4 separate regions of the Homo sapiens genome follow, and regions 1, 2 and 3 are each linked to region 4. The links are contacts of gene promoters, found by promoter capture Hi-C in blood cells and fetal thymus (Javierre and others, 2016). All regions are on one chromosome and are shown on one strand. Each heading gives the region's core, a stretch centred on a gene start or on the middle of the fragment in contact. The rest is flanking DNA. Distances are from core to core; before and after follow the strand shown. Region 1 overlaps MIB2 (MIB E3 ubiquitin protein ligase 2). Region 2 overlaps LOC100288175 (a long non-coding RNA gene). Region 3 overlaps AGRN (agrin). Region 4 holds the start of DVL1 (dishevelled segment polarity protein 1).

What was found. Contacts are between HindIII fragments. The CHiCAGO score rates a contact against its expected background, and 5 or more counts as called.
Region 1: a contact is called between a fragment that was not itself captured here and the fragment with the promoter of DVL1 in region 4, in 1 of 17 cell types (activated CD4 T cells). The highest score is 5.0, in activated CD4 T cells.
Region 2: a contact is called between a fragment that was not itself captured here and the fragment with the promoter of DVL1 in region 4, in 1 of 17 cell types (activated CD4 T cells). The highest score is 5.3, in activated CD4 T cells.
Region 3: a fragment that was not itself captured here is called in contact with the fragment with the promoter of DVL1 in region 4 in 1 of 17 cell types (M0 macrophages); the score reaches 5.5 in M0 macrophages.

Annotation. Positions count from the first base shown.
Region 1 is chr1:1,616,726-1,619,632 of GRCh38, forward strand. All of the region lies in intron 2 of MIB2 (MIB E3 ubiquitin protein ligase 2), which reads left to right. Among named protein-coding and RNA genes, the nearest start is that of MIB2, 2.7 kb to the left of the region's middle. The HindIII fragment of the contact is 1,337 bases long and covers 625-1,961 here.
Region 2 is chr1:1,066,163-1,069,079 of GRCh38, forward strand. It overlaps LOC100288175 (a long non-coding RNA gene), which reads left to right. Exons shown (of 4, transcript NR_148960.1): 4 at 1-291. LOC105378948 (a long non-coding RNA gene) reads right to left here. Exons shown (of 5, transcript NR_168433.1): 1 at 2,399-2,917; 2 at 1,636-1,878; 3 at 584-636; 4 at 304-436. Among named protein-coding and RNA genes, the nearest start is that of RNF223, 6.7 kb to the right of the region's middle. RefSeq lists silencers at 2,552-2,741, 2,902-2,917. The HindIII fragment of the contact is 4,423 bases long and covers 1-2,917 here.
Region 3 is chr1:1,039,351-1,042,347 of GRCh38, forward strand. AGRN (agrin) reads left to right here. Exons shown (of 36, transcript NM_198576.4): 4 at 1,315-1,530; 5 at 1,823-2,047; 6 at 2,128-2,352; 7 at 2,606-2,812. Among named protein-coding and RNA genes, the nearest start is that of AGRN, 21 kb to the left of the region's middle. RefSeq lists an enhancer at 196-874 and a silencer at 1,430-1,639. The HindIII fragment of the contact is 3,981 bases long and covers 1-2,997 here.
Region 4 is chr1:1,348,142-1,350,841 of GRCh38, forward strand. DVL1 (dishevelled segment polarity protein 1) reads right to left here and starts at 1,277. Exons shown (of 15, transcript NM_001330311.2): 1 at 755-1,277. The coding sequence starts at 924. RefSeq lists an enhancer at 1-239 and silencers at 1,129-1,308, 1,409-1,728, 1,749-1,898. The HindIII fragment of the contact is 21,682 bases long and covers 316-2,700 here.

The sequences.
Region 1 (2,907 bases), core at 43-2,542, 270 kb after region 4:
TGGAGGGGAGTGGTGAGTAATCCCGCGTCTCCTCTCTGAGTTCGGAACCCATGGAGGAAGAAAGCAGAGGTGCCAGACAGGCCTCTGATAGGCACCTGCAGGATTGGGGCAGAGCGGCCGCAGCGCAGGAGCGCCGGCAAGCCTGGCCCTTCCCGGGAGGCCCCCTTTGTCCGGTTCCACCCTGGCCTGTTGCCTCACATGCAACAAGTGTCTGAATGTGGCGCTCTCCTGGCCGAGGGCAGCCCTGGGCGGTGAGTGGGATGACACCCCAGCCTGCAGGGTGCCTGTAGGTCTCCACCCAGATGGGCAGGATTGGAGGTGGCCGCAGCGCTCGTGGGCTTTCCCTCAGCAGGTGTCTCCATGCTGGCCTCCCCGCCTCAGGGCTTCATCCCACTCCGTGGGCCTGATCTCCCTGGGGCACCTGGGATGTCCATCTGCGTTAGCTGGAGCTACTCCATGGCCTGTGGCGTGCCACACACAGCGGCATTTCGGTGTCATTAGGCACAGCTGGAGGTGCAAGGAGGAGGGCAGCCTCATGTCCAGTTCCATGTAACTTGCTTCTTCTGAATAAAGGCAATTTGCTAACTTTCTCGCTAAATAGGATTTGGTTTCTATGGCTTTTAAAGCTTCTCCGATAAAATACTTGCAATAAGGGAACTCTCTCCTCCTACACTCTCCTGACTGATGGTTCGGAAGTCCTCCTGCCCTCTGAGAGCTTGCAGTTTCTTGTGAAAAAGAGAAACTAAGCAGCAATAGAACAGACCCGGTGTCTGCTTGCGTGGTTAAGACGGTAAATGCTAAATGTGTGACACTGCCTTTAGAAACCATTTTCTCCAGCCTGGCTTGCTGGCTGCCCGTCTGGTTTGCTGTGTTGTGTCTCCAGTGGCTTTAGCTTCCAACAGGAAAGCCTGGTAGCCGAGCGAATCTGTGACCCAGGAAGTAGCAATTAAATGCCTGGGACGCTGCCTCGAGGCTGGTGTGTGCTCTGAGGTAAGTTCCGATTTGCCAAAGCACATCTGTCGATCTGTCGCCCGAGTCTTCACACCCTGACTGCCTCCATCATTTTAAACATCGGGAGCAGTTGCCTGCAGCGGGGTTCAGATGCCAGCCAGGGGCACAGCCTGTGAACTGTGGGTAGATGGCAAAGTCTAGCATTTCTGGCAAAGGAAAAAACATTTGGTAACTCTCTGAGTAAATTTCTGACTGAGATGAAGATACCCATTGTGGGGCAGCATCCTGAAGCGGAAGCCTGGGCTGTATGTTTCCAAGAGGAGGAGCAGGAGTGGCCACAGCCATGTACGCCACGATGTACACCAGGGGCTGCGTGGCCACAGCTCTGGTCTGCTGGTCTGCTCCCTGGAGCCCCTCCACCAGTGCTGGGCTGTGGCTGTGGCTGTCTCTGGTTTGTCTTTCTGGGAAACCTTGGCCAGGTTGGTGTGAGGGCAGGGCTAGCCTTGGACATCTGCACTTCCCATAGCAGCCTCTGGCCCAGAGCTCACCCGCTGTGGGCAGGTGATCAGGGTGATCAGGTCCCACGGGTCCCCTCCTCTGCACCTGGAGCCTTGTGGGTGTAGAACAGAAAAATAGGAGGGGGCAACCCAGAGGCCTCCTGCTCTCCAGGAAGGAATGGATGCTGGACAGGTCCAGGGTGGAGGCAGAGGGAGTGAGGGGCCCTTGGGGGAACATCTGTCCTAGAGGGCTTGATTTCCAGGCTGCCCACCCCACTCCTACCCCTAATCTGGTGTTCCTCACCTGCCTCCAGGAAGTCCTCACCTGAGGTCTGCAGCGGGTGTGCCAAGCGCCAGCCCCACATCACCTGCTCCCAGGCCTGCCCAGGGGATGGGTCCTGTGGCCAGTACCCTCGGGGTCAGCTTGACCCAGACCCAGCCCAGAACCTGTCCCATGGCCCCAGGAGGACAGGATGGTCAGGGAAGCCCAAGGGATGAGCCCTTTTGTCCACAAGCTTCCCTCTGACATGGGCAGGCTGCTTGTGCGACCCCACAGCCCCCACCTCTCATGAACAATGGGAATGGGGCAGGCCCCTCGATGCTGGGCTGGATCCTCCCGCCCCTAAGCAGGTGCACTCTGTCCCCTTTGAGAAGAGACCAAGGGATACAAGTGCTGGGTCCTGGCGGGGTGCCCCTCCTCCCTGCCTGTGGGGGTCTCATTACTGCCTCCTGCCCCCACCACAAACACCCCCTAGAGAGGCCTTCGGAGGCAGGTACTGAGCCCTGGGGCCAGGGTGCCAGGAGCCCAGTGGCAGGTCTTGGGTGACTGCTGGCCCTGGGGCAATGGTGAGAAAGCCAGGCAGGCAGCTGCAGGAAGGAGCTGAGGAGAAAGGCGGCAGAGCCTCAAAAGCTGCTGGCGGCCGGGCACAGTGGCTCACACCTGGAATCCCAGCACTTTGGGAGGCCGAGGCGGGCGGATCACGAGGTCAGGAGATCGAGACCATCCTGGCTAACACGGTGAAACCCCCGTCTCTACTAAAAAATAGAAAAAATGAGCCAGGTGTGGTGGCAGACGCCTGTAGTCCCAGCTACTCGGGAGGCTGAGGTAGGAGAATGGCGTGAACTTGGGAGGCGGAGCTTGCAGTGAGCTGAGATTGCGCCACTGCGCTCCAGCCTGGGCGACAGAGCGAGATTACGTCTCAAAAAAACCAAAACTGCTGGCCCCTCCAGAGGGTCCAGGATACTGAGCTCCTGAGCCTGGGATCCACGCGCATGTGGTCTGTCTGCACACTGGCACCGCAGAAGGGTTGGCAGGCGGGCAGGCATGGCTGGAGACCCCGCTCAGATGAGGCGGCCACTCCAGGGCAGTGCCATGCTGGACAGAAGGGACTGCCTTGGAAGTGGGACAGACCCCAGACCCTTGGGGTGGGGGCCCTGCAGGGGAGGCCTTGAGGAGGCG
Region 2 (2,917 bases), core at 123-2,622, 280 kb before region 4:
ACTGGCGTTACCGCTTGACCAAGGGGCCCTCAAGCGGCCCTTATGCGGGCATGACAGAAGGCTCCCCTCTTGCCTTCTATTCACTTCTCACAATGTCCCTTCAGCACCTGACCCTATACCTGCCGGTTATTCCTAGGTTATATTATTAATGCAACAGAGTAATATTAAAAGCTAATGATTAATAATGTTTATAATAATGATGGATAATTGTTCATGATCATCGCTGTATCTAATTTGTATTATGACTATTCTTATTCTATTTTCTTTATTATACTGAAACAGTTTGTGCCTTCAGTCTCTTGCCTCGGCACCTAGGTACTCTTCCGCCCACACGGGACGGGCTGGGGGTGGCCATCTCGGGCTCTGGGAAGGGGCCGGGGCTGTGAGCTGAAGGCTCCATCACCTCCAGATGCTGCAGCAGCAGGAATGCCGGTTCCTGTACCCTCGGAAGGAGGGGCAGAGTGTGGAGAACAAGCCCAAGAATCACTACAAGAACATCCTTCCCTGTGAGGGCGGAGGCCAGGGCGTCACCCGTCGGGCCTGGGGGAGGTGGGGGGCAGGCCGAGCATCTGCCACCGCTGACCTGAGGCTCCCCCTTGCATACCCTGGACCCTCCATCTCTGCTCACCACAGGGTCTGCGGGCAAAGAGGCAGGGTGAGGCCCACGAGCTGTGCCCTGGAGAACTGAGCGGCACCTCCCTTCCCAGTTGATGCTACCCTTGAGTCATCCTGCTCAACGAGGATGACAGCGGGCCCGGAGCCGACTACATCAGGGTGGGTGTGTGCGGGAGGCGGGGCCTGGGCCCATTGCTCCTGGGGGGCTCAGGAAGAACCAGGGTCCCCAAGGGAGGGGTGGGCGGCAGTCTCCAAGGGGTCCTCAGAGAGGCTGGACGGGCATTGGTCCTCAGCCCCTTGCTGGCCTGGAGTGAGGAGTGTGTTTAAGCCACCAGGGCTCTTTGCATAATATTTGTGTGTCGTTTGCATATCATTTGCATAGCATTTGCATGGACTTGTTTGTCCTCTGTTAACAGCAGCAGTTGGCCTCATTCCCTTTCAGACTGACCCTGAGGAGGAGCCGGGCCATGGCAGGGGCAGGGTGGACATCCCTTGTGGCCCTGCCCCGCCGCACCTGCACCTGCACAGCCCGCGTGGGCCCGCCCCGCCGCAGCTGAAGTGCACCACCATGGGCCCGGCCCGCGGCTCGCGGCTCGCGGCTCTGGGCCCGGTTCACCTCGTCCCGGAAGCCGAGGACGCCGGCGGGATCGGTCCGGACGCCGTAGTCCGGCCAGCCGAAGTACTGGAAGTGCTGCACCGTACGCTGTGGCTCCTCCCCGCGGGGCAGGGCCTCGCGGGCGCAGGGTGTACATCGCCTGCAGGGCTGTCTGCAGGCCTGTCTGCAGGCCACGGTGGCTGCTTTCTGGGCCACGGTGCACCAGGAGAACACGCGTGTCATCGTCATGACCACCAGGGAGATGGAGCGGGGCCGGGTAGGGGTGCGGTGCCAGTGCTCCCAGTGCCCATCCCACCCCGTGCATCTTCGGCTGCCCAAGGCCCTTCCCGACCAGGCCAAGGAGGCTGTGGGACGCCGTGGGAGTGGGGAGGCTCCCACAGAGCCCCGTGGCTGCACGTACACACCTGCGTCTCTGCAGGTCGCAGGGGCGGGGTGCCGAGGTGCTGCCAGCAAGGCTGATGCAAAGCGCTCCCCTCGGAACAAGTGTTTCCGGGACTGGCCAGAGCTGCCCGGCAGCCAAGAGTTCGGCCGTGTGCACATGCGCGTCCTCGGCAAGGGCCAGGCCCAGGGCTACTGCGTGCGGGAGCTGCAGGTGTGGCGGCCGGGCCAGGTGAGCCTGGCGGCTGTGGAGCGTGCCTGCTGTCGGCCTGCACTGGGAGACCCCACACCTGCCTGCATCCAACCCCACTGCCTTTGGGGGCTTCCACACCCCTCAACCCAGGAGGTGCATTCCAAGCCTGGACAGGGGTCACTGACGTGGCCACATTCTCAGCCCTGGGCTGGCGGCCGCTCCTCCCACACACCTCTCCAACTGCAGCTTTGGTCTCCGTTGTATACCAGAGACGCCCATTTCTGCTCCGGGCAGATTACCTCGTGTTCCCTCCAGCCCCCGCCCAGTGTGTGTGGGGGGGTCCTCCAGGACCCCATGGACCCCTCACATTTGGTTTTTCCTTATAAAATAACTGTCCTCACAGCCTGCTTCGCCCGCCCCCAGCTCCCTCTTCCCTTCCCCAGGCACCTGAGCCACCTGGGGCCATCTCGGCGCCCCCTCCCCATTTCCTTCCTCCTCCTCCTGCTCGCCTTGGCTCCCGCAGCCCCTCCGCTTGGGCACTCCCGGAAACCCAGCTGTGCCTCAGCCTCCTCCTCCCACCCTGGGGTCACACTCACCGCTTGCCCCGCTCAGGAGGAGCCACAGCGTACGGTGCAGCACTTCCAGTACTTCGGCTGGCCGGACTACGGCGTCCGGGCCGATCCCGCCGGCGTCCTCGGCTTCCGGGACGAGGTGAACCGGGCCCAGAGCAGCAAGCCGCGGGCCGGGCCCATGGTGGTGCACTTCAGCTGCGGCGGGGCGGGCCCACGCGGGCTGTGCAGATGCAGGTGCGGCGGGGCGGGGCCACGCGGGCTGTGCAGGTGCAGGTGCGGCGGGGCGGGGCCACGCGGGACGACGAGGGCGGAGCCATCGGGTGGGCGGGGGCGCCCCCGCCCCCGCCCCCCACTCTCGTCAAAGGCCGCCTAGTTTGTCCTCAGTGGGGGCATCGGATGCACGGGCACCATCATCGTGATTGACATCCTGGTGGACGTCATCCGCAGGCAGGGCGAGCCGCTCCACTCTGGGTCCCCCCGCCCTGCCCTGCTATAGCCCCACCCCTCCGGGCGACCCCACCCCTCCGGACGACCCCACCCCTC
Region 3 (2,997 bases), core at 411-2,910, 310 kb before region 4:
TGGGCTGTTGCTATAGCAACAGCTGGCTCCAGCTCCCAGTGCACCCACCCTCCTTGGAGATGGGGGGGGTTCCTCCTGCCCCATTTCACGAGCCTGCTGGGAAGTGATGGGTGGTAGCCACCCCTCTGACATGACTTATTAATGATAATTGGACCCAATTAAACATTTATTAAATCCAGACAGCTGCAGCCGCTAACGGACCCTTCCCTGATCCTGGGTGGGCCATGCTGGGGGTGGGGGTGCTCAGGATGGGCTGCCGCAGGGGCTCTGGGTTTTAACGTGCCTGAGGCAGCTTTGTTGGCCACGTTGAGGTCTGGTGATGGGACGTGTGTCAGGCGCTGTGGTCTGCAGCTGTAAGAACTAAAATGAGCAACAGTTCCTGCACCTCTCCAAGAAGGAAGTTCGCTTTGACAGAGAGTGAGGGCGATGGAGGAGGCAAGAGTGAGGTGGGGGGCCGGGGGATGCCCAGGGAGGAGGGGGCGTGTGGGTGCCCCAGGGATCCCAGGGAGCGATGGGAGGCTGCAGAAGGGCACAGGCCTGCCGCGGGTGGGGGGCTGGCCAGGGAGAATAGGAGATAGTAGAGGCGGAGGCCAGGAATTTGCACTTCTCCAGGGAAGCTGGGGAAGAGTTGGGGAGAGGGAGGCAAGAAGATTCCCCACCCATCTTAGGCGCAGGGAGCGGTCAGGGAGGCGCCAGAGGTGGGCCAGAGCTGTGACCTGGCCTCACACCCCGTCCCGGTGGGGCTCTCAGGCCCCTGAGGGCCAGACGCGGGACCTGGGTGCGACCCGGGCGGGAGGCGGCAGGGCTCAGCTGTGCTGGACGCTGCAGCAGCGCGGGAAGGGGCTCCCCCGGCTCCATGGGGTGAATCGGTGAGGGGCTCCGGTGCCGATGTGGAAGGAGCTCCTGAGCAGAACTGGGGCCTGGACTGCTTGTGCCCGAGTTGGTTTCGAGGCGTCTCTGCTTTTCGCTGGAGGCCCACGAGGTGGGTGGGAAGTGGGTGCTCGCCCGTCGCAGAAACAGAGTCGGGTGCCGCCTGCGGCAGACGCCCCTCTCCGCGCCTGCAGGTGCGGGGTGGGGGAGAAAGGTCATCCCTGGAGAGGCCCGGGGCTGGCGGGAATCCTCGGCGGGCGGGGTCTGCGAGGGGCAGGGCCGGTCCTGTGAGCGCACGCACGCGTGTCCGTGTCCGTGGTGGACCCCCGATGCGGCGCGGGGGCGGGTGAATGCGCGGGCTGCGAGCACGGCAAGGTCTCTCAGGCTTGTGGACGTGGGTACGGGCGTCTCGGCACCCTGAGCTTTCTCCCCTACCCGCCCCAGCGTGCCGGGGAATGCTGTGCGGCTTCGGCGCCGTGTGCGAGCCCAACGCGGAGGGGCCGGGCCGGGCGTCCTGCGTCTGCAAGAAGAGCCCGTGCCCCAGCGTGGTGGCGCCTGTGTGTGGGTCGGACGCCTCCACCTACAGCAACGAATGCGAGCTGCAGCGGGCGCAGTGCAGCCAGCAGCGCCGCATCCGCCTGCTCAGCCGCGGGCCGTGCGGTGAGCGGGGCGGGGCCGGTGCCTGGGGCGGGGAGGGGCGGGGCCTATGAGATGGAGCGAGGCTGGGAGGGGCTTCGGGGCCAGTGGGGCGGGGGCAGGGGCGGGGCCCGGCGGGGAGGAGCGGGGCTGGGAGGGGCCTGGGGGGCGGAGCGGGGCGGGAGCGGGGGCGGGGCCTGCGGGGCCCGGCGGGGAGGAGCGGGGCTGGGAGGGGCCTGGGGGGCGGAGCGGGGCGGGAGCGGGGCGGGAGCGGGGGCGGGGGCGGCCCGTCTGACCGGCAAAGCCCCGCCCGCAGGCTCGCGGGACCCCTGCTCCAACGTGACCTGCAGCTTCGGCAGCACCTGTGCGCGCTCGGCCGACGGGCTGACGGCCTCGTGCCTGTGCCCCGCGACCTGCCGTGGCGCCCCCGAGGGGACCGTCTGCGGCAGCGACGGCGCCGACTACCCCGGCGAGTGCCAGCTCCTGCGCCGCGCCTGCGCCCGCCAGGAGAATGTCTTCAAGAAGTTCGACGGCCCTTGTGGTGAGCGCGGCGGCGGGCGCACGGCTCGAGCTCTGTGGGCGCGCGGCGACAGCGTCCTGACTCCTGCCCTCGACCCCCAGACCCCTGTCAGGGCGCCCTCCCTGACCCGAGCCGCAGCTGCCGTGTGAACCCGCGCACGCGGCGCCCTGAGATGCTCCTACGGCCCGAGAGCTGCCCTGCCCGGCAGGCGCCAGTGTGTGGGGACGACGGAGTCACCTACGAAAACGACTGTGTCATGGGCCGATCGGGGGCCGCCCGGGGTCTCCTCCTGCAGAAAGTGCGCTCCGGCCAGTGCCAGGGTCGAGGTGAGCGGCTCCCCCGGGGGAGGGCTCCGGCCAGTGCCAGGGTCGAGGTGGGCGGCTCCCCCGGGGGAGGGCTCCGGCCAGTGCCAGGGTCGAGGTGGGCGGCTCCCCCGGGGGAGGGCTGCGGCCAGTGCCAGGGTCGAGGTGGGCGGCTCCCCTCTGGGAGGGCCGCCTGCTCCCCTGCTCCCTGCACATCCCAGGGCAGGGATGGAGGGTGCTCCAGCCTCTCCGTGACTCCCTCACCCCTGCGTCCTAGACCAGTGCCCGGAGCCCTGCCGGTTCAATGCCGTGTGCCTGTCCCGCCGTGGCCGTCCCCGCTGCTCCTGCGACCGCGTCACCTGTGACGGGGCCTACAGGCCCGTGTGTGCCCAGGACGGGCGCACGTATGACAGTGATTGCTGGCGGCAGCAGGCTGAGTGCCGGCAGCAGCGTGCCATCCCCAGCAAGCACCAGGGCCCGTGTGGTGAGCGCCCCGGGGTGGAGGCCAGGCGGGGTGGGCTGCTCCTGCGTCAGTCCCTGCCTGGACATCACATGCCATCTTCATCCATCATGTTCCTCTTGGGGTCCTGGGAGTGGGCCGGTCCCTCTGGGAAGGCTCTGGGGAGGGTGGAGCCTGTGTGCGGAGGGTACCTGGATACCTGGGGGCTG
Region 4 (2,700 bases), core at 27-2,526:
GGCCTCAAGCAGACCGCCAGGCTCCTGCTCCCTGTCCCAGAGGGCCCAGCTCAGCACAGCAGGGGTCTCCTCGCCTGGGACACCACCACCGAGGCCCAGCAGGGAGACGCTGACCCAGGCTGCCCCGAAACAGCAGATGGTCTGGGCTGCTCCGGGAACGCAAGTGCTTTGTGGCTCAGTGGGGACGGGGCCCACAGGAAGCTCAGGACACGGGTAGGCGAATAAAGTTTCATGGTCACCAGTGGCCCTTGACCTCCACCCTGTCACAAGGACCCTGCAGAAGGGGGCCAGGAGAACCTGTCTTGACCCTCGGGAAGCTTCTGCAAACCCTAGCAGACAGGTTGGTGAACCTGTACCCCCATGTCTCCCCATCCCAGCTAGGGAACCCCACCCTGCTTCCTTCCCACTGACACGCCCCTGACCCCAGCCCGCACCAACGGCAGGCGCTCCCGGCCAGCCCCGGTGGAAGCGATGCGGCCGACCGAGTCTGACACGGGCCAAGGCAGGACTCGGGGCCGGGAAGCTGGGGCCAGGGACGCCGGGAACCCCGCCTGCCATCGCCCCGCTCCACGGACAGGTGGGCGCGCGCCGCACACGGGCCGAGGCCGCCACCCGCGCCGCATCTAGCGGAGGCGCGTCGCGGTCGCAGGTCCCCGGGGGCGCGAACGGCTCAGGACCCCCGCCCCGTCCCCGCGCGGGCAGGTGCGACCCCCGAGCCCGCGCCAGGCTCGCGCAGGCCTCGCGGCCGACTGACCCGAAGTCCTGGTCCATGGACTTAAAGAAGAATTTGTAGGCGTGCACGGGCCGGTTGCTGAGCACGTTCTTGAAGTCGGCCAGCGTGACGCGCTCGGGGGCCACGGGCAGCTTGACCAGGTACGGCGTCTCCTCCTCGTCCATGTGGTAGATAATCTTGGTCTCCGCCATGGCGCGGCGGCGGCGCGGAGCCCGCGCGCTCAGGGCCCGGCCCGGGGCTCGGACGCGGGGCGCTACCCGCCCGCCCGCCTGCGCCCCGCCCGGCCCGCACCGCTCTCGGCCCCGACGCTCCGAGGCCCCCGGGCGCCCCCGCCCGACCGCCCAGGCCCCGGCCGCCGCCCCCGGCTCCCGCGCGCGTCCCGACTGCTGCCCCGCGGCCCGCGGCCGCCCATCCGCCCCCGGCCCGGGAGCGGCGCGAGGGACGCAGCACGGAGGGCGCGCTCAGCCCCGCCGCCCTCCCGCCTGCGCCCCTCGGGCCGCGCCGTTAAAGGGACCGCCCGGCCCGGGGTCCTGAGCGTGGCCGCGGGGGGGCGCCCGAGCGCGCGGCGTTGACGTCACGGGGGCGCACGGCGGGGGCGGGGCGAGGATGCGCAGACGCAGGCGATCATCGCTCGCCCCGCCCCGCCCCGGCCCCGCCCCCGCGCGCGGGCCCGCGCTCCATTATGATCCGGCGCATGCGACGCGCGCCGCTGGCTGTGGGCCCGTGGGCGCCGGGGCGCTCGGGTCGGGCGGAGGGACCCCGGGGACGCCGGGTGCGCGGCGCTGAGGTGGCGCCCGGTCGCTCTGCGCCACCGCGAAGGCTCCCGACTCGCGTGCCCTCTGCCGGGTCCCACGGGGTCCAGGCAGCAGGCCGAGCGGATGCGGGGCGCGCGGGGGCGCGGGCGTGCACGGAGGCGTCGGAGCGCCCGGCGGCGGGAGGGATTTAGTCCTGGGGTTCTCCGCAGGGCAGGGGAGACTTCCGAGGCGTCCCTTGAGGCCGCGGGGCGTCCGCGCTTACTGTTCCGGGGCTCGCGGGGCTGGAGGCCTTCCCGACCCGACCCCAGCAGGAAGCGCGGAGGCCACTAGAGGGCGGCCCAGGATGGGAGGAGTGAGGAGGGGGCCTGGACGGGGCAGGAGCGACGGGGGGAGTGAGGAGGGGGCCTGGACGGGGCAGGAGCGACGGGGGGAGTGAGGAGGGGGCCTGGACGGGGCAGGAGCGACGGGGGGAGTGAGGAGGGGGCCTGGACGGGGCAGGAGCGACGGGGGGAGTGAGGAGGGGGCCTGGACGGGGCAGGAGCGACGGGGGGAGTGAGGAGGGGGCCTGGACGGGGCAGGAGCGACGGGGGGAGTGAGGAGGGGGCCTGGACGGGGCAGGAGCGACGGGGGGAGTGAGGAGGGGGCCTGGACGGGGCAGGAGCGACGGGGGGAGTGAGGAGGGGGCCTGGACGGGGCAGGAGCGACGGGGGGAGTGAGGAGGGGGCCTGGACGGGGCTGGAGCGACGGGGGGAGTGAGGAGGGGGCCTGGACCGGGCAGGAGCGACGGGGGGAGTGAGGAGGGGGCCTGGACCGGGCAGGAGCGACGGGGGGAGTGAGGAGGGGGCCTGGACGGGGCAGGAGCGACGGGGGGAGTGAGGAGGGGGCCTGGACGGGGCAGGAGCGACGGGGGGAGTGAGGAGGGGGCCTGGACGGGGCAGGAGCGACGGGGGGAGTGAGGAGGGGGCCTGGACGGGGCAGGAGCGACGGGGGGAGTGAGGAGGGGGCCTGGACGGGGCAGGAGCGACGGGGGGAGTGAGGAGGGGGCCTGGACGGGGCAGGAGCGACGGGGGGAGTGAGGAGGGGGCCTGGACGGGGCAGGAGCGACGGGGGGAGTGAGGAGGGGGCCTGGACGGGGCAGGAGCGACGGGGGGAGTGAGGAGGGGGCCTGGACCGGGCAGGAGCGACGGGGGGAGTGAGGAGGGGGCCTGGACG